Linked DNA regions of Homo sapiens: regions 2, 3, 4, 5, 6 and 7 are each linked to region 1. The links are contacts of gene promoters, found by promoter capture Hi-C in blood cells and fetal thymus (Javierre and others, 2016). All regions are on one chromosome and are shown on one strand. Each heading gives the region's core, a stretch centred on a gene start or on the middle of the fragment in contact. The rest is flanking DNA. Distances are from core to core; before and after follow the strand shown.

Region 1 (3,108 bases), core at 264-2,763:
AAAATAAAGTTGAGAAAAACATACCGATTCATCTTCATCACTGATTGTTCTGTCTGAATAGTCTTCCTTTTCTGAATCTTCTGACATCTTTTCCAGTGTTTGACTTGAGATTTCTTGTAATATACGGGTAGGCTGTAAAACAATTTCTAAGGAAATTATATGACAGCTTTTCTTTTCAAGCTGTAGGTGTTTACTACATTAAATGAGTACTCAAAAATATATTCAATTGTATTTAACAGTCACAACAGTCTTCTCTAAAAACTAATTAGAATACAACTAATAAAACCTTCAATTTCAAAGAGTTAAAGGAATTTTCCATGACTATACGAGACAACAACCACAATAAGACAAATCAAGCAAATCATTTAATTAAAAGGAATTTCCAGAGTATACAGCCAAATCATTCACATTTTATATTTACAATTAAATACTACACAGCAAGTTCAGAATGATCCTGAGGCATTAAAAGATAATGAATTTAAAAATTATAGTCACTTACTGAAATGTAGCAATATAATTTTAAGTTTTCTCCTTGATTTTCACTTGACCAAAAGTTCAAGTGACAAGACTTTACATTTTGATTATTATTCTGTAGATACTGTCTGTTCTAATATTCATTTATATTATTCTTATTCTTAGAAATCTAAATAGCTACCAGAAGGTTGTATTGGTAATGACCATTACCATTCTATGCAAGTATCTTCCCATGTGGGTAATATCAAGACCAGGGAATAATCGAAATTTCTTGTCAAGTTCCCATCGTTCTTGAGAGACCAAAGGACTCGACAATTTCAAATCTATTAGTTTACGCCCCTCTCTACAGGAAGCGTGTTTTGGAGCGTGGACTACATATAAGTTAAGTCCAAGCTCTATGGCAAATCACTGCCAATGCCACGGAACCGACTGTCTCATAGATGACACCTTCAGTCCTAAGAAACTGAAGTTTCTGCCTGGGCATCACAACTCCACATTTGGAAAATCCGACTGGCCTAAATTCCATTCCTTACAGGTGCACACAGGGCGCACGAAGTGCTGACCTGCTGCGGATACAGCTCTGGTCTCAGGAAACGGCCCTTATCCACCGGCGCTCCGCGGGTGTCTTCCACCACTGCGGAGGAGGGGCAGATGCGGGCGCGTCCACGCTTAGCCGCGTCCCGACAGTACCAAGGCGTTTTTGGCGGGAAGCACGATGAGGCCACAACTCCGGGCGGCCGAGTTCCTTCCCGCACTCACTCCTGGACACCTTGGTGTGGGGAGGCGCTCATTTTCCGGGGCGCGCTCGCTTCCCGCAGGGGGCGCCCCGCCTTACTTCTGCATACCTCACCGTCCTGTCGGGGCCGGCACCTCGCTCCCACGCGAGTCCTCTGGCCAGGCCAGTCGTCGCTTCCGTGCGGGGAGAATATCTCGGGATCTCGCGATCTCGCGGAGAACCCGGTATCCAGCCGCTAGAAGTAACGCCACTGCTGGAGATCCGCAGCCCCAGCCACACTCCCAACTCTCGTCATCAGGCAACGGGTCCGCCCTCGCGAGACTTCGGACAGCCTTCGGAGATCACCTAGCAACCAGCTCGGAGGAAAGGAGCCTGCGTAGGTTTTGGCTCCAGGAAGAGGGATCCCAGAGGATGCCGGGAACTCGGGGTGGGCCGCAGGGCGGTCAGAGAGGCTCTCAGAGAGGCTTTGGGGTCTGTCGGGAGAATTTAGGAGTGGGGAAGACCGGGCAGCTATTTATTCCCAGTGGTCTGCACTTCGGCTGTTGCCTCAGAGGAGGCAGTAGAGCATGCTGGTTAGGACTGTGCTTTGGAGCCCACCTGACTTTTAACAGTGTGACATTGAACAAATTAATTACCTGGACTTCATGGGTACAATACTTGTAACTACTACTTGGAGATGTTAGAATATTAAAAAGTACGTTGGTCTTGATTTTTTACAGACTGAGTTCCATTCTACACAATTGTGCGATTAATTCGCTTATTCGATTCTGGAAAATGAGGCTTTTCTCCTTAAATACTAAATGGAGAGTCATAGATGAACTAGGGTGAATTCTCAAAATTATCAGCTCAGAGATTCTTTATAGCAATCGTCAGCTAGCATATTTAACACTGTTTTCCTGATGACTGCAAATCACTATATGTAGTCTCATTTAGTTAACAGACGTTATTCATGAACATCCCATATTGATTTTTTCCCTCATCTTTAGCTCTACAGGGTAAGGTAATCTATTTGGAAAAGTTTTCCAAGTACAGCTGAAAAAAAGTCTAGATTTTGATGATATAAGAATGTAAATAAACACTTTTCACAAAGCGTTATATGTCATGAGATTCGTGATATTGTAGAAATGGAGATAATAAATGGTAGCAAGTTTGAAAGTAGAATAAAGGGCAAAGCACTATGGCTTAAGCATGGAAATGGGTTAACATAATCTCTTTGTATTTTGTAAGTATCTGAAAATAGGTGTTTTTGAGGTCAGCAGTTTAAAAGTATGAACCTTCCAGATTAGACCTTGGCCAGAGAATATTAATAGAGTATATCTTAGATCAACCTCTTGAAAAGTAGCTCTTATAGTTGAAGCTTGTTTTATGCCATACATAAATCACTAAAGGTGACATGCACAGAGAAATCTTTATTTATGTAATCTGTTTTTCTGTTGGATTTTAGTCATGGCTGCAAGCCATAGGATGTCAGCTGTACAAGGTAAAACTGAGAAATGGTCTAACCAGGTTATATAAGAAATTAATGGCAGGGCTGAGAGACTTAAGTCTCGTGATTTTTAGTCCAAATAGTTATATTATCACATACCAAGTAGTCCATGGGAAGAAAAATGATCTTAATGCATAATTTTAAAAACTTAGGATTTTTTTTTTTTTTTTGAGACAGAATCTCACTTGCTCTGTCGCCCAGGCTGGAGTGCTGTGGTGCAATCTCAGCTCACTGCAACCTCTGCCTTTGGGGTTCAGGTGATTCTCATGCATCCTGACTAGCTGGGACTACAGGCACGTGCCACCACTAATTTTTGTATTTTTTAGTAGAGACGTGGTGTCACCATGTTGGCCAGTGTGGTCTCAAACTCCTGGTGTCAAGTGATCCGTCTACCTCAGCCTCCCAAAGTACT
Region 2 (3,108 bases), core at 292-2,791, 440 kb after region 1:
ATTCACGGCCTGGGAGGCTATGGTATCAGAAGAACAGAAGTATTATAGCTAGAAGAAGTAGGAAAACAACTATAGCCAATATTTCTTGCCACATAAGGTCTGTCTCCTCAAGCTTCGAGATCTATGGAGAGGATAAGAGGTGGGTCCAAGGGATCCTCAGCCAGTGGGACTTAGGTGACCCCCCCTTCTTGACTTATATCCCAAATAACTTTGGTGTCTCCACGACTCGAAAGCAAAATGTTCAAACTCGGTCCTTTCCTTCACGGGTTTAAGGAGGGAGAACACAGCCAAGTCTTAGAGACGCTGGACTTGCTGCAACACAGGAAAATGAGATGTGCAGGGTAAGGGATGGGGATGAGGAGGAAAGGGGCCACTTGGATTTCCCTAAAGGTTGGAGAGTAGCCAAAAGAGGTAAAATAAGAGTCCAGACAGAGTAGAGCAGTATGGGTGTAGGTTTCTCTGCACAGTGCCTTATTTAAGGGCATGGGAAAAGTTATGGGATGACAGAAAAGGTGAGTAAGGAGGTCAGCAGGGTGGCTATTTTGGATCCACCACTGGTCTAAGGAGAAGGTGGACCAGTCGTTGGGGCGTGGGGTATGGCAATCCAAACGCCAGCAATCTTTATGGTGCCAGAAATCCTAAACGGGTGAATGTCTTCCACACCCTTCCCCATAACAACACCTAATTTGTTTCTGACAGGAAAGGCAGGACTGGGATGGCCAGCCCAACCGACTAATGAGGAATTTGACCTCCTGGGATAGAAAATCTGTACTAAGGACCTTGAAGAAGTCCTTGCCCAGTCATTTTGGGCAGTATCGACGATCCGACATATGAAATTTAGACAGACACTAAACAGGACAATAGGCACTGGGGTATATAAACAAGCATGGCAATTTTTATAGACAGACAAGGGGAGGGGGTCCCGTGATGGGATCAGTCAGATGCCCTCCTGGCTGCTCCCCTTTCGGGGACTTAGGCTCCTCTTGGCATTGGCAGGCTGGTATAAACCCCTGGCTTGGATCGAGCTATGCCTGATGCCGCCCTAAGCCTTATGAGGTCACCACGGAACCACAGGTGAGGGCCTTCTCGAATTCCCTAGCTTTCACCCTGGAGCTACAAACTGGAAATTCAAGCGCAAGCCCTTGAACTCCACATTCACTCACTCACTCACTCACTCAGAGTTTATTACAATTTTTATACCCATTCTAAAACAGAGATCTCCCGGAGACCTGAATGAGAGAGGGAGAAGAGATAGAGAGAGAGAGAGACTAGACTTAACAGAGAATCCTGACAGAAACCAGGACTCTGTCCTCCAGTGTCCTGGAGCATGGACAGAGTCTGAGGGAGGACCTTCGTCAGGGCCGTTTCCCTCCCAGAGAGACAGAGTCAGATCTGACTTACCTTCCCGGGACTAGAGACTGAGGACTCAGGAGTTGAATTTGGCTGGGCGCACCGGCAGTCGATCCGTTCCCCTCCAGAAGACAGTGGCCTGTGGAGCCCTGGAACGTCTTCAGGTGGCCCTGTAAGCCAGCTGTCTGTCTGGGGAAGCCCGGAATGAGTCAGGTCTTCACCCGGTGGCGAATCTCTCTGGGGCTTCCAAATGTCGTAACCGAGCAAGTCATAGAGAGAATGCCACACTCTGAGACTAATTCAGGAGTCCTTTATTGCTGGCGACTGAGAAAGAGCTAGAGCTTGAAATTCTCTCGGTCCGGAAGAAGAGGCTAGAGTTCTTTTTATACCTTGGCCTAAAGAGGGGAGGGGGAGTCTAGCTGAAGCAATTTTTTACAGAAGCAGAACAGGAAAAAATTAAAAGATAAATGGTTACAGAAACAGTTACAGGAAAATAAACAGTTCCAGGTGCAGGGGCTTAAAGTATCCCAAAGTGATAAAAGCAGGGGCTTTGGATACCACCAACCAAGTGTGCTCCCAGGAGCTGCTGGTACAGCTTGCCTCAGTATCTTATCAATAAGCGCATTCTTGGATGTGCTTGGAGTCAGCTTGCACCAGTTATGTCCTTAAGGAGGGGGACAAGGGGCTGCAAGCGAAGAAACCAAGCTAAGACTCTCTCAGCTATTGACTCTCTCGATATTGACTCTCAATTGAGTCTCCCAAGCTATTGACTCTCTCAGCTAAGAAAGAGTCAATCAGGATAAAACAAGATAGGGTATCACAATTTGATCTGCAAGATTATTTCCTGGACTTGTGAAAGGCGAGTCGTTTTGGTGCCCTGGGACATGTACAATAGCTATCTCTTCTGGCAATTGGAGATTGTTGAGGACACGAGCATCAGTTCTCTATGAACTAAATCTTGGCCTCTACTATTGATAAGAGCCCTCTCCATCCAAATTTTCCCAAATGTGTGTGCCTCCCCAGAGGGATACTTAGAGTCAGTATAGATAGATTTTCTTGGTTTTGTAAATGTCCTAAAGCTTGGCTGAGTGCAAACAGTTCACACCCTTGGACAGACCAATTATTAGACCCCCTTCCTGATTTTACTTTTTTAACAGTCTTTCCATTAATCACTGAATACCTATTATGTCTCTTTCTTTTAATCACCTGGGAGGTTCCATCTATGAATAAGTGCCACCCTGTCTTGAAGGGAGTTTTTCCTAAGTCTGGTTGAACTTTCGTATGGTAATTAATTCGATTTAAACACGCGTGCTCTCTCGTTTTACGTTTGGATCCCCCGTTAAAGAGCCTGCTGAATAAAGTGAATTATTAGTACTTAATATTAAATCACCTTTTTCCCAGAAAGATAGCCTCATATTTTAAAATTTTTGAGTTGGTAATCTCCCTCCTTGCGTTTTGATTTAATATAGTTTTAACTTGGTGGGTTGTGGCCTGAAGCGGCTGGGGAGTAACTTGAAACCTCAGCTGAAGGGACAGCACAGGCTGGGGCGTGGCCTGAAACAGCTGGGGAGTAACCTGAAACCACAGCCGGAGGGACCTGAGAGGGGAACCAAAGGGGCAGGATTGGGGGCGCTGAAGGAAGGAAGGTGATTTAGAGGATCCCATGTCTTGGTAGGTATGGGTTGTCTAGGCATGGGAACTCTTTCCTTTTTAGAAAGGTTGGTTTCTGATTTTCTCCCTCCAGAGTCTAAAGGGTAA
Region 3 (3,108 bases), core at 185-2,684, 380 kb after region 1:
TGCCCCCTTCGTAGCCTAGACACCATAGACATGCGAAGCGACTAAAGACCACTAGGTGGCAGCAGAGCCCCAACTAGACTGTCCCCCAGCTTGGGCACCAAGTCAGATTATTAATATTTATAATGAAAGCCTGAAGTTTGAAGGGGTAAGACAATAGTGGAATTAAACAAACAATAGCAAATAATACAGGGAGGTCAGTCAGCTGGGGCCAAGAAGATCTTAAGCCCCATGCAAGTGTAAACCAGAGAAATGGTGAGACCTCAGCCATTGGGGAGATGACAGGTTACTCTCAGGTTAATTGTCTATAATCATCTCCTATCTGTCTACATGGGTAGCCTTTCCCCTGCTTTGAAACATTTCCTGCTAAACAACCCTTAACGATTTTCTATTTAAAGATCAGTTAATGTCACTAGGCCTCCTGGAATCCTTTGTACTTAGGCAATTCCCAGCACTAGATAAAATCAAACTTCTTGGCCAGGCATGGTGGCTCACGCCTGTAATCCCAGCTCTCAGGGAGACAAGAGGCGGGAGGATAGCTTAAGCCCAGGAGTTCGAGACCTGCCTGGGCAATATAGCGAGACCCTGTTCTCCACAAAAAGGAAACAAGAAAAAAGACAAAAAAAAAATCAACCTTCTTATCTCTCTTTCTCTGGGCAGCCAGGTGCTTGGCAGAAAATTACAAAAGTCTGCACAGTGACTTAATTCTAAATATGTGATATGTAACCTCAGTGGTGACTTCAATGTTCAACTTTCATTCTTCATGAACTTCTTAGGGGATTCCTCATGGAAGTATTCTAAGCCTTCCCCACTCCCTGAAATCCCTTACCACATTTCAGCTTCCCCAACTGCAGCAGTTGAGCTCACATCCTCCTTTATCTGGGGGGCTGAGGTCATCCATCCTGTCCTCTCTGAAGCCCTTCTCTACTGTAGAAAGAGCATAGGAGCTACAGAGTCTTTCCGGGTAGGTGTACCCAGTCGGATGGAGAAGATAGAAATTCCACCCTCTTCAATAGAAAGTAATAAAAATGGATATCCTGTATCTCATCTCTGAATCAACTTACTCCCCCAAAAGATGTTACAAACATTACTAACTGGAGTGTTTTCTAAACCATAGGAAGGAGCCTGAGGTGACGTCTTTTACAAATTTTATCTGGAAAGGCAATGCTTTCAAACTATACTCCAGCAAAATATGCTCCCATCATTAAACTTCAACTGACTTTATCCTATCCCGGTGGCATGTGGTTTGTGTATTCAGTCCTTCATTTGATAAATACTTACTCTAGAGACAAGCCTCATAGCCACTACACATACTGCCAAATACAGAGATGATGGAAGACTTGTATGTCTGATAATGAATATTGAAAGGGAAGAATCATTCATCCAGAATTTATGAGAATCTCCCTCCACAACTATCAAAAGAGGATCTACCCACTGGGCTGCAGGCATATGGCAGTGTGCTCTGTCCTTAGGATCAATCAAGATGGTAAGTGCCTCAGGCTTAAGTTATTTATTATAATCACTCTTCTGATATGCAAATCATTTTCAAAGGTTTTCTGGCTACTGAAAAGATCATATATGACCAGCAGGCAGGTGCACATATGTTTCAGTCGGCTTGATGGATATATCTCTCTGAATAGTTATGTAAGATTCTACTATATTTATCAGTTTTTTAATGACTAGATTATTATGGATCATCCCCGATATTATTCCTGAGTGGACTAACAAAAATACATTTTTAGAAATAATTTTTTAAATGTCAAAAACTGTAGACTGGACCTTGGTCTCAAAATGACCCTACTAAGGTACTGACAGCCTAAAAGATTCAGCTGGAGCCTCCTGTCTTTCTCTTGTTATTTTTTTTTTTTAAGACGGAGTCTAGCTCTGTCGCCCAGGCTGGAGTGCAGTGGTGCGATCTCAGCTCACTGCAACCTCTGCCGCCTGGTTCAAGCAATTCTCCTGCCTCAGCCTCCTGAGTAGCTGGGATTACAGGTGCCTGCCACTGCGCCCAGCTAATTTTTGTATTTTTAGTAGACACGGAGTTTCACCATCTTGGCGAGGCTGGTCTTGAACTCCTGACCTCGTGATCCACCCGCCCCAGCCACCCAAAGTGCTTGGATTACAGGCGTGAGCCACCGTGCCCGGCCTTCTCTCTCTCTCTTAAAGCCAAGGGTATTAAACACACATCCATTTGGAACTGTATTAATTGAGGTTATGTAATTTAATTGATGTATCAATATTAGTAAACTAATAAATCAATTTTTAATAAATTGAATTTAAAAATGAATTTAATTTGTGGAATTTGAACTGTATCCATTAATTGGGGGTATTCATCAAAAACAATTGGGTGTAACATAGGAATATAAGACCTATATCAAATATTTGGAGGGCTTTCATTAGGAATAGGAAAAGACCCGTTCCGTGCCGTCACTGCATGCAGAATTGAGATCTACAAATGGAGGATAAAGGAAGATGGCATTTTAGCTGCACGTTAAGAAAGACTTGCTAAACACAAGATTTTCTCCTAAATATTCGTTGGGAAGTGAATTCCTGATCCCTAGAGGTGTTTAAACATTAGCCAGACTGTGTGTAATATTGAAGATCTAGAAGACCTCCAGTGCCTCTGGGCCCCACCAGCCTCGAGTCTATGATTCTGTAACTAGGCAACTTAACTTCAAAATGCATTTTAAACGTTTTTTTTCCTTTCTCTTGGATTTCAACATATAACCTTGAAGCAAACTGCAGAAGCCTTTTTCCTTAGCCTTAAAATGGACTCCACGTCCCTCTTTCTCACCGAATATAGTCCCTTCACATTTATCTAACTGCATGCTAGTGTCTAAAGGCACATAATTATTATGGGGCTAATTTTTAGGCAGACCAAGTCTGGAGACCCCGCTACAGAATTCCAGAGATGACTTCAAGGTGACTAGTCAACAACCCAGCCATTGTTAAGATGATGCCAGCCTGAGATCCAGGTGGCCTGGGACCCAAGACAGCCACCAGAGCAAGACACACAGGCATTGGAATCAGCACAATTCCTGCATGCCTTCCTTACCAAGTTTTCCCATTTTGAACTCTTGCTTTCCCCGCTAGATACAAAGCAGTTCCTTT
Region 4 (3,108 bases), core at 442-2,941, 360 kb after region 1:
GTTTTATTCATGTTATTGGATGTATCAGTACAGTAATTCATTCTTTTTAATGCTAAGTGCTAATATACTACAACTTGTTTACCCATCCTGTTGTTGATGGACATTTGGGTCGTTTTCAATTTTTGACTACAGTGAATAGAGCTGCTATGAACATTCTTCTACAAGTCTTTTTGTGAACATGTATTTTCACTTACCTTGGATACTTACCTACAACTGCAATTGCTGAATCAGAAGATGTGTTTAACTTTATAAGAAACTGCCAAACTTTTTGTCAAAGTGGTTATATCATTTTATACTTCCATCAGCAATATATGTGAGTTTTAATTGTTCTGCATCCTTACCAATACTTGATACTGTCAGTCTTAGATTTTAGCTATTCTAGTGGGCATGAAGTAGAATAACATTGGGGAAATCACCACTTCAGACTCAATTTTTCCATCTACACAATGGTGCAGTAAGACTTAGAAGTCAAAGGAAATAAGTATTTGAAAGGGCTTTGTAAAGTGTAAAGCGTTGATCAATACAAAATATTCATCTTGACAGAAGCCAAGATACATGATGCTGAACATACCACGCAGTCCTCTGGGTATAAATATAGGTTGAAAAAGATTAGACTGGGAAATAAAATGTTTGTTACTTTGTAACCATTTCCTTTTTGTTATATTATTTTCTTCCTGGAAAATTATATATAGGAAGACAAATTCAGGTAGTTAATTAACTGGAACCCCCAATCATTCATTCTAATCACCGATAGGCATCCAATAAATGTTTAGTTAAGCAATGAAGTATTTAGTTACACATTTCTCATAAGTACATGAATGTTGCTTATATTGCCCTTTTAAAGAACTTATTATTTCTTTAAGGAGATATAATCAACACATCTTCAGACATAATCTGCCTTTGGTCTGTTTCTGTTCAAGCAATGCTGCAGAGGCTTTTAGCTAGCCTGCTACTTCCAATAGCTGTGATCTTTCTTGAATTTTCATAATTTAGCTAAATATTTACATATATTGACTATCAACAAAAACATAGCAACCACATAAATATATTTTATTTGAAGCAAAATATTGTACTTGTAGATTTTTTTTCTTTTTGTAATTGGTATTCAATGATGCCTTTTTGTCCTCACTTATCAAAAGGAATCCTTCTTTTAGTGAAGTTAATACATAAGGAAATCAGCTTGAAAACTTCATGAGAACCAGTTTTCTAGAATCAACATCAACCATTATCTCTTTGTAGCCCCCTGGAACCTTCGAATGGAGAGGGGAGGATTCTCTTCCTTCACCCTCCCCCATTTCCCATTTGGGCAATACAAATAGCCCAAGTCTTAGTTATTCATTGAGTTTGATGTTAAGAGGTACAAAAAGCTTATAAGGCTCGCATTCAAGGGGAAACTGGGCCAACTATAAAATCTAAAGAGAAAGTACGATGTGAAAATTGTATCTGAAGGATAAAAAAGTGTGTCTCACATATATTTGAATCAGATGAATAGTCAGCTACTTTGTTTCTCTAAGAAAATTAGTATAATATTGTTTTCTAGCATAGTAGGATACTTCTGTGTATAATAAAAGACATCCTCAGTGTATTGGTGTTTTGGTTTTACTCACTCACCTTTGCCCATTTTGGACAACAGAAATGGAAAGCAAGAGTAATTTTGCTGGAGAAAGAGAGATGGCTGATGCTGGTATGTGGATATGCATGTATGGACATGTAGACCAAGGAGTCTCCTGTGTTCCCCGCCCTCCACACTCTCCTTCAAACACATTAACACGACAATGAAAGTATTCTGGCAAGTTTGGGTTTGTGGATGTGTCATGGGTTGATAAATTTGGTAAGTAGTTTCATATAATATTTTCATAGGTGAAGAATCAGAAGATTATCAAAAAATTGAAATAGTGTCAGAGTTCTATAGCTCAGGAATCTCCTGGCATCCATATACCTTTTACTTCGCTATCCATTTAAATATTTCTTCTAAAATCCCAATGTCAAACCCAGAGATTAAGACCAGAAGCTTGATCTGATAGCCCTCCTCAAAATACTTATCTTCCAGGTACTTTAAGGTTAATTTCACTGATGCCGTCTAGTGCTACAGTTTTGTCTCATGATACTTTTAGAGAAGTGCTTGAGGTTGATATATGCAATGCAAAGACATCTACTGGCCCAGTCACAGGTCATCTAATTTTCCATCTTTTTGCTACTCAATTCAAAATTGAAGACTTTGTAAACTCTCTGTAACCAATTTCCTTGTAAACGCAACTCATTTCTTGCCCTCCCTTTCCCCATGCCTTCTTTCCTGAGAAAACTGGGGCAAGTATTCATAAACATCTGTTGTGGTTGTTCTTTGATTCGTTGCAGATTTATTCTGTGTTCTGTTATGTTCTTTGTCCTGGGAACCTGACCTCTAGGTACTGTGTTACCGAGGTTCCCTTGCCCTCTGGTCAGTGGGAGGAGAAGATGTTGGAATATTTATTTTCAATATATCTCTCCTCACCATTTATTCCCACTCACCATCTGCTTCACCGTGGTTCTATCAATGGCCTCATCACTCAAACTATAGCTACCGTTGGGCAGCCCATCTTGACTCTAACTCTTAGCCAGTCTCCAAAAATTGCGTTTTCTCCCCCTACTGTTCAGGCCTGGGGATCATCAGAACTCCCTGCTATTCCTAGTGTCTGGGCACCTCAACATCCCTTGCTAGTTCCTCTAACCCGAACCACACCTCTAAATATTTCCTTTATGAAAAAGCCTCTACACAACAAAGCTGAGTGTGCTGTCTCTCTTGCTGAGAGGCTGATAGAGCCTCCTGTCTTCAAGTTCTTCACAGTTCATGAGACAGTGTCAGACTTAGGGATCATAGACTCCCCTAAGCCTGAAATTTAAAAAGTACCTGAGCACACAGACTCACATTTCCCTCTGTGCACTCACAGTACTTAGAGGGAAGCATGATGTCAGGAATAAAAACAAACTGAACTAATTAAATAGGAACATTTTTCTGAAACACCCTATGCCGTTTGAGTTAGAAGCCCATAGGAAAATATTATATTTGCATTTTTTCGGTCAAGAATGATATTTTCTGGGGACAGAAACAGAACTTGGGAAGATAATGAC
Region 5 (3,108 bases), core at 352-2,851, 350 kb after region 1:
TGGGAGAGATAATTTTTCTAAGACTGCACAGCTAGTTACAAAACCAGAGTCTGACTCTTAGCCTTTGTTCTAAGCTCTTCCCACCATGCACTGCTCCTAAAAACTTATTGATATAACTTCATTCTTCTTTTCTTTGGAAAATTTGTTGTCAGTCATCTAAGATGTATTTATCTGCTCCCTAAAAATAAAATTAAAAAACCCCTCCTGACCAGGATTTTCTTCTGCCTATGGGCTTCCCCAGTCAGCTAGCTCTTGGATAAAAGAACATATCCTCATTCTTTGATGAAGACTCAGATAACATAACTTTTCCCCTACATACATGCATATTTTCTTAAAGAAGTGACCTCACTCTACAAGTTGGAAGGTCAAACTCATAAAAGGAAGTCTTTATGAACCCTGCATCAACTTAAGAACATTACACACATATTTGTTTCCTTAGCTTTGGGGATTTATGAAATATTTTCTATATAGCAATAAGCCTATTTTTCTGCTATGGTTTATACACTGGTTCTGACGTAAGTTCTGAAAGAAGCTTCTCAGAATTGTTGACACCCATGAAGCATCTTTGAAATGGGTGTGTAACCTCATAATATAACACTTAGAAGGCAGTGACACTTACGTGGAAGTGTAATTTCTAGAATGTCTCATTAAAGCCTCTTTACACAATCTAATCCAAATCAGTATCAATCAAGGTTTATGTTTCAAATATTTTTTTCCATCCTCCTCATCCTATTCACAGACACACCACACCCCTAACACACTACCAACACCTTAGCCCAAGCTACCATCACCTCTTGCCGGCATTTTCTCAGTAGCCTCCTAACAAGTCTTTCTGAATCCACTTTTACTCTCTTCTAGGCAGCCAGGGGTGGGTGATATGGTAGAATACCTTAGTGATTGTGTCACAAGTCACCCCCTACCACTCCCCAGCTTAGAACAGTGGCTTCCCATTGCTCCTTATAGTGACCCTTCCTTCTCCCTATGATCATTTGGCCTTCACACATGTGTATTCCCTACCTAGAATGCTACATCCTTCCCCTCCTTCTCTTCTTCCTCCCTTCCCCACTCCCTGCCCCTTAGTCTAATGATTCCTATTCAACTTTGATATTTATTGAGTGGTCATCCTCCTGGAAAAACTTGATCCTACCTGGCTTATATCTCCTAGGCACCGTGCACTTCTTCTTTATAGAACTTTACACAAATCTACTTACACTGTATATGATCTGTTTCTCCATTGGTCTTCAAGCTCCCTAAACATATGGGCCCTGTTGCTTTGGTTTACCACTTGTCCACAATGTCTGGCATTAGGTGCTCAATTAATATATGTTAATAAATGAATGCATCAAAAAAGAAATAGATTAAATTTCCTGTCTTTTTTTTTTTTGCTAAATAGTACTTTTTGTGTATAGATTCACACAAATAAATAAGTACATGTCTTTTTAAAAACATTTATGCCTTTAGACCCTAGGAGTTTACAATAAAATGTGATATATATAAACTTATAAGAATAATGTTAAATTTTATGTGTGGACTGAAAATGTTAGCTCTGAAAGAAACAGAAATCATGTAGCTCAACTCCCTTATTTTATAGTTGAGAAAATAGAGGCTCAAAGTAGACGAAAGAATTGCTTAAATACAAAAGCAGTTAAAGCACAGAATGAGAATTGAAGTTTCTTATGTATAGGGTAAAATCAACCTTCTTAATTGTTTTCTCTTGTTTTCTTCCAGAGAAAAACAGATGTAACACGCAACTGGGAGGCCTTCCTAGGGCAGTGAAAGGCTGGTCCTAGCAGATAAGGTTCCAGGGGCTGCACTAGGTAGAGAAAGGCATATGATTACTTAGTCAAAACAAGTGCCAGGCCACAGATGCTAGTCAGCTGAGATGACATGAAGCCTAATGGGTCTGAAAAATAGAGAGGGGAAAACTTTTTAAGAAATCTAAAACAGTATAAAAATCACAACGGAGAGTAAAGGCTATCTATTTAAAGATGAAATCATCTTAAACCTCTAAACTAAGCCCGTCTATGTAAAATACTTTTTCTTTGGGTGTAAGCATTTTGGAGGCTACCTGAGATTCTAAGGGGCACCCTTTTTAAAAATGTTCTCTACTGGCTTTGAGAGCTGTTGTTTCTATAGCAACTTATAGTTGTTATTTTATGTCTAGAGAGATGCTACTTTTTTCCTAAAGAGCTATGATTCCAACATGAGTGAGACAAAGTTCTTTATGTTTCTCATTTAAGTACTCACAGAATCCTTATAAAATAAAATCCTTATAAAATAAATTTAATAAAATTTATTTTTATAATAAAATTTAAAAATATAAAATTAAAATAAAAATATAAAATTTAAAAATAATAAAATGTAAGAAATAGCTTGACTGGCTTCATTTATTAGTAACTTTTGAAATAAGGAATGAAGAGAGTAAATAATTAATTGTTTATATCATCAGTCAGTACCAACCACTAAATTCCAGTCTCTGCCAGGTGAGTGTCCTAACTAGTTTCTGATGTTGTCACTCTGTGAGGTATCAGATAAGAGGAATAGGTAAATTGCTGTTTGCAACCAGAAGATGTAAAAATCAGATAGGGAAGAAAAATCACTCTCATATGATGTTCTCTTTACTAAGTTACGACTTATAAAGTGAGTAATGGCAAAGGCTTCAAAGCTTGGTAATTCGAAGTAAGATGATGTTTAGATTGCTAGGATCCTGGATCACTATCACAGCCGAAACAAAGAAGGAACTGCAGTGCCAAATGACATACATGTCTTCACCATCAGAATACCAACAAGTGTATAAAGGCCTGGCATTGATATATTGCTAGAGTTTCCCTTCTGTAGATAATTGTTTTTATGCACAGCAGGAAAGGACCTGTGTTCTCAGCTCCAAACCCAGCTATATTCAGTAAAACAAGAATAGACCAACCTCTAACAAAATATTATGGAAAATGCTTTCATTTCTTTTCTTCTGAAAAAAGGTAACTATAGCATATTCTCTTCTCCTAAACTCATCTATTTCCTTATGCTTTGCTGCATCTCTGCCCTCTCTAAAAATGGGAGAAAAAGGAGAAAAAAAAAGGATAAAGAAGAAGAATAAGTAAAGTCTTCAGA
Region 6 (3,108 bases), core at 1-2,500, 330 kb after region 1:
GTTGATCCAAGGGCACATCGCATACTTTATACCTCCGGTCGTTGTAGATTTCTTGGTAGTAAGGATGAGACTCCTCAATGGGAGGCGGGGTTACATTGTAGCTTCTTCTCCAGAGCCTCACTTGTTCTTCACCATGATTCAAAGCCATCTGCTCCCTGTTGAGACCGATCAAGGCCCCATAGTGACGCTCATTTAGACGCCAGGAGCTTTCCACAGGCACCCATTCCTGGCCTAGCTCTTCCAGGATCAGCCAGGCTGTGTGAATGGACCGATTAAGGACAGATGTGAATACAAGATCAAACTCAAAGTTTAACGCTTTGAGTTGCTTCCCACAGTTCCGAGCTTCCTCCATTCCTTCGCTGTTGAGTTTCTGATCCACCCAGCTACAAAAACGGTTCTCCTTATTCCAAGCACCCTCTCCATGTCTTAACATAATAAGTTTGTACTTGGACATACTGATGGCTGAACTTCCCAGGCGTTTTCAAATGGGCTAATATTCAAGGACAGCAATACATCTAGAAAGACAAGAACAACAAGTCTAAGTTATATTCAACTGACAATCTAGGAATAGAAACATCGCTTTACAACACCCAATTTCTAAAAGAAACTGAAATCCCTTTGAACAGTCAGAAATGTGATAACTCATACACTGTGACACATACAGGCATATTCTATAGATATTAATAATTCATTACAGGGAATCTAGTTGACTTAAATTTTCTGATGTTTGGATAGCATGTTAATTGCATGACATAAAATAACAAAACACTTCATTCTAATGGCATGCTGTGTTTCTGCCAGATACAAAGGCAATTTATGCTTACAGTAGAAAGGATTTAATAGAATGAGTTACAGACGTCTGAAAGAATGACTAGTGGCTGGGAACTCCCAGCTCCCAGCAGCTGACTCTACACTGAAGGCATCCTTTTCACTTTGTTTTCCTGTGGTGGAAAAAGAAGTATTTACCAGTCTCACATTCTTATTATAGAAGTTATTAAACATGTTATTTCAATGCACCACTGCATATATCTGATATGTATCACTGGCTGGTGGCAACTAGCTCTTCAATGCCACAGGCTACAACACACAAGAAAATCTAAGGTATGCAAAACACATCAGTTCAACATTCAGACAAATTAAAAGTGCTTTAAAGAGACATTAACACCAAATATGGTACGTACCTAAATAATCTTGCACCTACCTCAAGATAGAGTTTTCAGCAGGAATAAATCCAGATGCAAAATAAGCTATCAAATGCAAGCAGCTGAGGGATGCTGCCTGTACAAACAGATCTGGTAGGCAGGAGTGAGAGGAACCACACTGATAAAGAGGCCCCACCTCCTCCTCCCCAGCCCTCCAGATATCCTACACACACCAGCTACGTCTTAGCAGGGGGAGAATCTAGTAAAGGGAGACCAGCAACTCTCAAGCTATGCTGAACTCCTTACATTTAAGCTGCTGGCCTGAAGATCTGCTGGGCCCACTCCATCCTCGGAGAATCTGCTGACATGGCTGCTCAGCCCGCCTCTCTCTCTCCTTGTGGTGGACACATCTGCACTGACACATGCTTGGTTTACACGCCCGGCCTCTCCATCTCTCCTCCAGTGTTTTGCACACTGGGTTGTAAAGATTATACGAGCACTACAGCCTGGTCTTCTGCCACTCTTGGCAACTTCCATTAACTGGAGATTTTCTCTCCCACTTAAACTGTGAGTCACCCACAGTAAAATAACAATCAATGGCAAAATTGATTGGAATCTAGATCTAGTTTCTACCTTTCTTTAGTAATTCCTAGAGATTCTGAAGGGAAAACAGTCTTTAAAATAAGGCTTTATATTTCAATGGAAGGCAAACAGAGGACTTAAGGAAAGAAATCAAATTGAGGTGATTTGCAAGTATCGTCATGTGTTGCTTAATGAAGGGAATATGTCCTGGCAAATGCATCATTAGGTGATTTTGTCGTGCAAACAACATAGAATGTACTTACACAAACCTAGATGGTATACATATTGTTACTTATGTTTTTTCATATGGAAAGCCAAGTATCCCAGCACAATTACTGAATATCAGTCATTTCCCCTACTCGATCTGCAATGCCAATGTCAAGTGCCACATATCAGATGTCTATATATGCTCCATTACCATCTTACAGGGCCACCATCATTTACACGATCCATGCTTGACTGAAACATCATTAGGTGGTGCATGACTGAAGTTGAAAGGCTACAGCAGTTAGGATGATGATTTTCCTTTCTTGTTAAGTACCAGGTTGCTGTGCATGTGCAGCAGGGAAGTGCCAGGGAACCAGAAGAGCCTGGGCTCAGGACCCAGATTAAAGCATCCCACAGAGCTGAGAATTCCCAAGGAGGAAGCCCAATGTCTCTGTCCTTAGCCTAGAAGAGGCATCAGGGTGGCAGAACAGAGAAGGGAACAAAAGGTATCTAGGCAGTGTTTTGCCAGATGACTGCCTGTGCCCAGGGGCAGAATAGTCATGAATCTAACAAAGTTCAAGCTTCAGAGCCCCTCACCTGTGAGAAACCAGGTGATGAACACACACACACACACACACACACACACACACACACACACGGAGGGGTGTGTGTAAGTGTGTTAATTTGCAAATGGAAGATATTTTTGCAGTGTTTCTTTACAAAGCCCCAATCCACCAAGTAGTAGAAGCCTCAGCTCCATCAAAAACTGTATCTACCCTTTGTAACCATTGATCATTTTGTTTTGTTATTGGTAGTGGAGGAGGGGGATGGAGAAAAAAGAAGCTATCAACTGTTCCTCTACCTTCACCCTCAGTTTATCTTGTCAAGTGAGAAACCTCCATAAGCTAATGAAGCCATTCTCTCTTCAGTTAAAGAAGGGCATGGTTAGACAAATTTTGTAGACAGAAGCACCTTTCCACCATCTTTTGATTATAAACTATATCAAGGGGACAAAACAATGTAGTAATAGCAACATGGACACTCAGGCACCCACCACCAAGCTTTGTGGTATCTTATTCTCCTATATTTGCTTACTGCATTAAAACAAAGTTCTGTTTTCTTTTTACTAAAAAAAAAATACACACACACACACACCAGAACAGAGGAACAGTACTGC
Region 7 (3,108 bases), core at 229-2,728, 280 kb after region 1:
CGAGTTGCTTCACTCTTCAAAACAGGCTTGAGTATATCACCACCCAATCTCTTACAACCATCCCTAACAATCATTCTTGTTGTTCATTGGCTGATCTAAAGATTTGTTAAGTCAGAGTGGGATAGGGTGACAATTTGTAACACTTCTTTTCAATTCCCAAAGATCACTGATTTTTCTCTTTATTGGGTTATAGACAATAATGTGCACTCTTCCCTTAACCCACTGATTTGTTTCCACTCTCCAACAACAGTAAAAATTATAGCAATCCTATGTTATGCATCTTCTATGTTCCAGAAACAATGTTGGGTGCTCGACATAAGCATATCATCTCATTTGACACTGACCTTAACTCTGCGTGTGGGTGTTATTAGCCCTGCTTGATAGGTAAGGAATCTGAGGTTCAGCGAAGCATGCCTCAGTAACCAAAAGTATCGTATTATTTTCATAATTATATTGCAGTGTGGCTTTGAGGTTTGGCAGATGTGAGCTTGAACCCTAGCCCTGACACTCACTGTAGTGGGACTTTGGATGAGTTGCTCAACTCTCCTGGACCCATTTCCCCGGGGTGCAAGGAGTCCCAGTGAGGGCCAAGAACTCCCTTTGGGTGTGAGGAAGAGGGTTTGCAGGTGGTACCATGGAGTGTATGGTTCTTGATCAGTTCACCCCTCTCTAGGGTACTCTGGGAAGGTCAAGTTCTCAAACTCCCCAAAGTCTCAAAATCCCCAAGAAGCCCCTTTCTGGAATTTGGGGTTTGCTTATGACTCCCTAGGAGTAGCTGAAGTTTTTCTAAGAGGACACGAACTTCTCACATTTCCTGAAATACTTTTCAGAGGGGTCTCCAGGGCCCACCTCAGAAAAAGTCTATTGGCAATGAGGTCCTGTGGTTTCTCAAAGTTAAATTGTGATAGGTTTGGCCCTTCCATCTGTTCTAATGAGCAAAGGGACTTCTTTGCTTGGTAGTTAGCCCTGCGTAGTGGGTGTATCCCAGGTCCCTACAACATTCAAAGTACTACCACACAGTGTTTACTAAGGTGACCCAGGAAAATTTCTTTAGCCATTATATGCAGAAAAAAAAAAAAGTGGAATGAAATCGCAGAAAGGCTTAGCCAAGGGCACTTTGAAATTCACAATACTCTATCAGAAAAGTCTCTACAGAAACAGTACTCCTGTAGGCTCTTGGTTATAAATATTTAAAGGTCTGAACACACGGAATGCCAAATTTGTCTATCGGCTCTGCAAATAAAACAACCTATTAATTATCCATTAGTACTACACATTTCCTAATTTATACATGCCTCAAATTGAGCTGTCCCTCCCTTATACAGTGGTTTGGCTGCTCCCTGGGGTGACCTAAGTGAGTCAGCTGCAAAGGAGACTGATGCTTTTATTTGCAGTTTGTTCTCAGCCTTTGACCTCAAAGAAACTGCTTTCGTAAGCGGGTAGGACTCTGCTTGGTGGGGGTGGCAGGGGGCAAATGCTTTCAGAACAACCCATCAGTGACATCCTGTGACCTGCAACGAAAGGCCTATGAGAGTAAGGGCCTCCTTTCTCAGCACGCCTTTCTCCTCACCCTAGTAATGCCTCAGACCATGTTTACGCCAGAATTAACATACTTCGGGGAAGCATGCAAAAGGAAATCAAATCTCCCTTTGCCTGGGCTTTGAGAATTTCTGAGCGATTTCTCACCTCCATTCTGCCTTATGCTTAGCTCTCTGAACACGGTGGCTTAGAAGAAGAAGCAGCACTGAGATCAAACTCTGCTTCTCTACCCCGAACACCTTCTGTCTGAAAAGAAGCAGAGAAAAAAGAAAGAGCTGGTCCTTGTTTTGTCGGTGAGAAGAATGGACCACATCAGTGGTTCTAAACCTGAAGCCTAAGAGTCAGCTGAGATGCTGGTTAAAATCCAGATTCCTGGGTCCCATCCCCAGTGGCCCTGGTTCATTAGTTCAAATTCCCCTGCGGATGGCTTCCAGACTAGCTTCTAGGGAGACATGGTAATCACTTAGTCCACCCAAGCTGATACAGCCTAAGGTTTTATAGGTCATTGACCCCCGCTATTCCTGGCAGCCTGGGGCCAGACAGCCAGTTCTCATCAAGCCTTTAACCAGTCACTGCCTCACTGATGTTAGATGTGACCTGGGCTTCCTGGTCAAATTCCTGATCATCCTGTCTTCCTCAATAATAACAACTCAAAGTTCCCGTGTTCTTCTTCCTCTGTAGTCAGAGATACCTTAAAAGCAAGGCAAAGAGAAACAAGAGAAGCTGGTTTATAGCTGAAGGGAAAGGCTCTTTGATCCATCTTTCTCTCACCACTGCCTGCTCCTTCTGTTCCATTCCTTCCTGTAATAGGCACAGTCATCATTTTTATGTTTTTTAAATAAATAAAAGCACAATCATGTCAGGGCTGAGCAGCACCTTTGAGAGGATCTGATCCCCTTCCTTACTGTTCAGGCAAGAAAACTGAAGACAGAGGTTAAGGAACTTGCCAAACGTCACAGCCAGCAGAGGTAGTGGTGGGATTTGAACCCAGGCAGTCTGGCTCCAGCACGCAGGCTTGTAGCCAGAATGTTCCACAATGCATAGATGCAATAAGAAAGCTGATCTAATAGCACAAGACAGGCGAGCATAACAATGTCGGGAAGACCCATGCAGAGGGCAGGGGAAAGGTTATCCTTGTGCTATTCTTGTAATTTTGTTCAACAAAATTGTCAGCATGTGGGCAGAAAAAGAGGCAAAGCCACACACTGTCTTAACCATTTGTAAGCACAGACTATATCACAAAGGGGATTAAAGCTCACATGGTCGGATTCTGGCCTCTCTCACTCCCTTCTCCTAACTCACAAGAAGAGTCAGGCAGCCTGGGCGGGACCGGACCTCTCATGGGCTCCAGCAGCCTGGAGTTCTTCTTCCCATGCTGCCTCTTCCCAACTGCATGGGTATTGTTTCTTCTGTAAATCGGGGAGAGGATTGTTCAACGGGATTACTGTGGGTGCTTTCCAACTCTGAAGTTGCAGGTGTGTCCCACCCTTGAGTGGCAGGGGTAGCTTTAGTGTAGCTTTCTATGCAGCTGAGGGGGACAGTAAATGCATGATCACATGCATTTTTACA

What was found. Contacts are between HindIII fragments. The CHiCAGO score rates a contact against its expected background, and 5 or more counts as called.
Region 2: the fragment with the promoter of AKR1B15 here is called in contact with the fragment with the promoter of AGBL3 in region 1 in 16 of 17 cell types (total CD4 T cells, M0 macrophages, total CD8 T cells and 13 more); the score reaches 18.2 in total CD4 T cells.
Region 3: a contact is called between a fragment that was not itself captured here and the fragment with the promoter of AGBL3 in region 1, in 7 of 17 cell types (naive CD4 T cells, naive B cells, non-activated CD4 T cells and 4 more). The highest score is 8.0, in naive CD4 T cells.
Region 4: a fragment that was not itself captured here is called in contact with the fragment with the promoter of AGBL3 in region 1 in 5 of 17 cell types (naive CD4 T cells, naive CD8 T cells, total CD4 T cells and 2 more); the score reaches 7.7 in naive CD4 T cells.
Region 5: a contact is called between a fragment that was not itself captured here and the fragment with the promoter of AGBL3 in region 1, in 10 of 17 cell types (naive CD4 T cells, naive CD8 T cells, activated CD4 T cells and 7 more). The highest score is 19.9, in naive CD4 T cells.
Region 6: a contact is called between a fragment that was not itself captured here and the fragment with the promoter of AGBL3 in region 1, in 7 of 17 cell types (naive CD4 T cells, total CD8 T cells, naive B cells and 4 more). The highest score is 8.9, in naive CD4 T cells.
Region 7: a fragment that was not itself captured here is called in contact with the fragment with the promoter of AGBL3 in region 1 in 6 of 17 cell types (naive CD8 T cells, non-activated CD4 T cells, naive CD4 T cells and 3 more); the score reaches 9.4 in naive CD8 T cells.

Annotation. Positions count from the first base shown.
Region 1 is chr7:134,984,913-134,988,020 of GRCh38, reverse strand. AGBL3 (AGBL carboxypeptidase 3) reads right to left here and starts at 1,513. Exons shown (of 17, transcript NM_178563.4): 1 at 1,320-1,513; 2 at 25-146. The coding sequence starts at 87. RefSeq lists enhancers at 822-1,081, 1,162-1,301, 1,312-1,611. The HindIII fragment of the contact is 3,121 bases long and covers 1-2,569 here.
Region 2 is chr7:134,547,543-134,550,650 of GRCh38, reverse strand. It overlaps AKR1B15 (aldo-keto reductase family 1 member B15), which reads right to left and starts at 1,541. Exons shown (of 12, transcript NM_001080538.3): 1 at 1,402-1,541. It overlaps LOC105375520 (a long non-coding RNA gene), which reads left to right. Exons shown (of 3, transcript XR_928005.3): 3 at 1-3,108. RefSeq lists an enhancer at 1,471-1,530. The HindIII fragment of the contact is 2,317 bases long and covers 115-2,431 here.
Region 3 is chr7:134,603,458-134,606,565 of GRCh38, reverse strand. No RefSeq gene overlaps it. Among named protein-coding and RNA genes, the nearest start is that of BPGM, 42 kb to the left of the region's middle. The HindIII fragment of the contact is 6,093 bases long and covers 1-3,108 here.
Region 4 is chr7:134,622,021-134,625,128 of GRCh38, reverse strand. All of the region lies in intron 1 of LOC124901750 (a long non-coding RNA gene), which reads left to right. Among named protein-coding and RNA genes, the nearest start is that of BPGM, 23 kb to the left of the region's middle. The HindIII fragment of the contact is 644 bases long and covers 1,370-2,013 here.
Region 5 is chr7:134,638,779-134,641,886 of GRCh38, reverse strand. All of the region lies in intron 1 of LOC124901750 (a long non-coding RNA gene), which reads left to right. Among named protein-coding and RNA genes, the nearest start is that of BPGM, 6.5 kb to the left of the region's middle. RefSeq lists a cis regulatory region at 1,601-2,021. The HindIII fragment of the contact is 2,133 bases long and covers 535-2,667 here.
Region 6 is chr7:134,658,854-134,661,961 of GRCh38, reverse strand. It overlaps BPGM (bisphosphoglycerate mutase), which reads right to left. Exons shown (of 3, transcript NM_001724.5): 2 at 1-515. The coding sequence starts at 454. The region is part of intron 1 of LOC124901750 (a long non-coding RNA gene); the gene reads left to right. Among named protein-coding and RNA genes, the nearest start is that of BPGM, 14 kb to the right of the region's middle. The HindIII fragment of the contact is 2,528 bases long and covers 1-2,514 here.
Region 7 is chr7:134,702,330-134,705,437 of GRCh38, reverse strand. The region is part of intron 1 of LOC124901750 (a long non-coding RNA gene); the gene reads left to right. Among named protein-coding and RNA genes, the nearest start is that of BPGM, 57 kb to the right of the region's middle. RefSeq lists silencers at 1,466-1,676, 2,247-2,541. The HindIII fragment of the contact is 3,656 bases long and covers 1-3,108 here.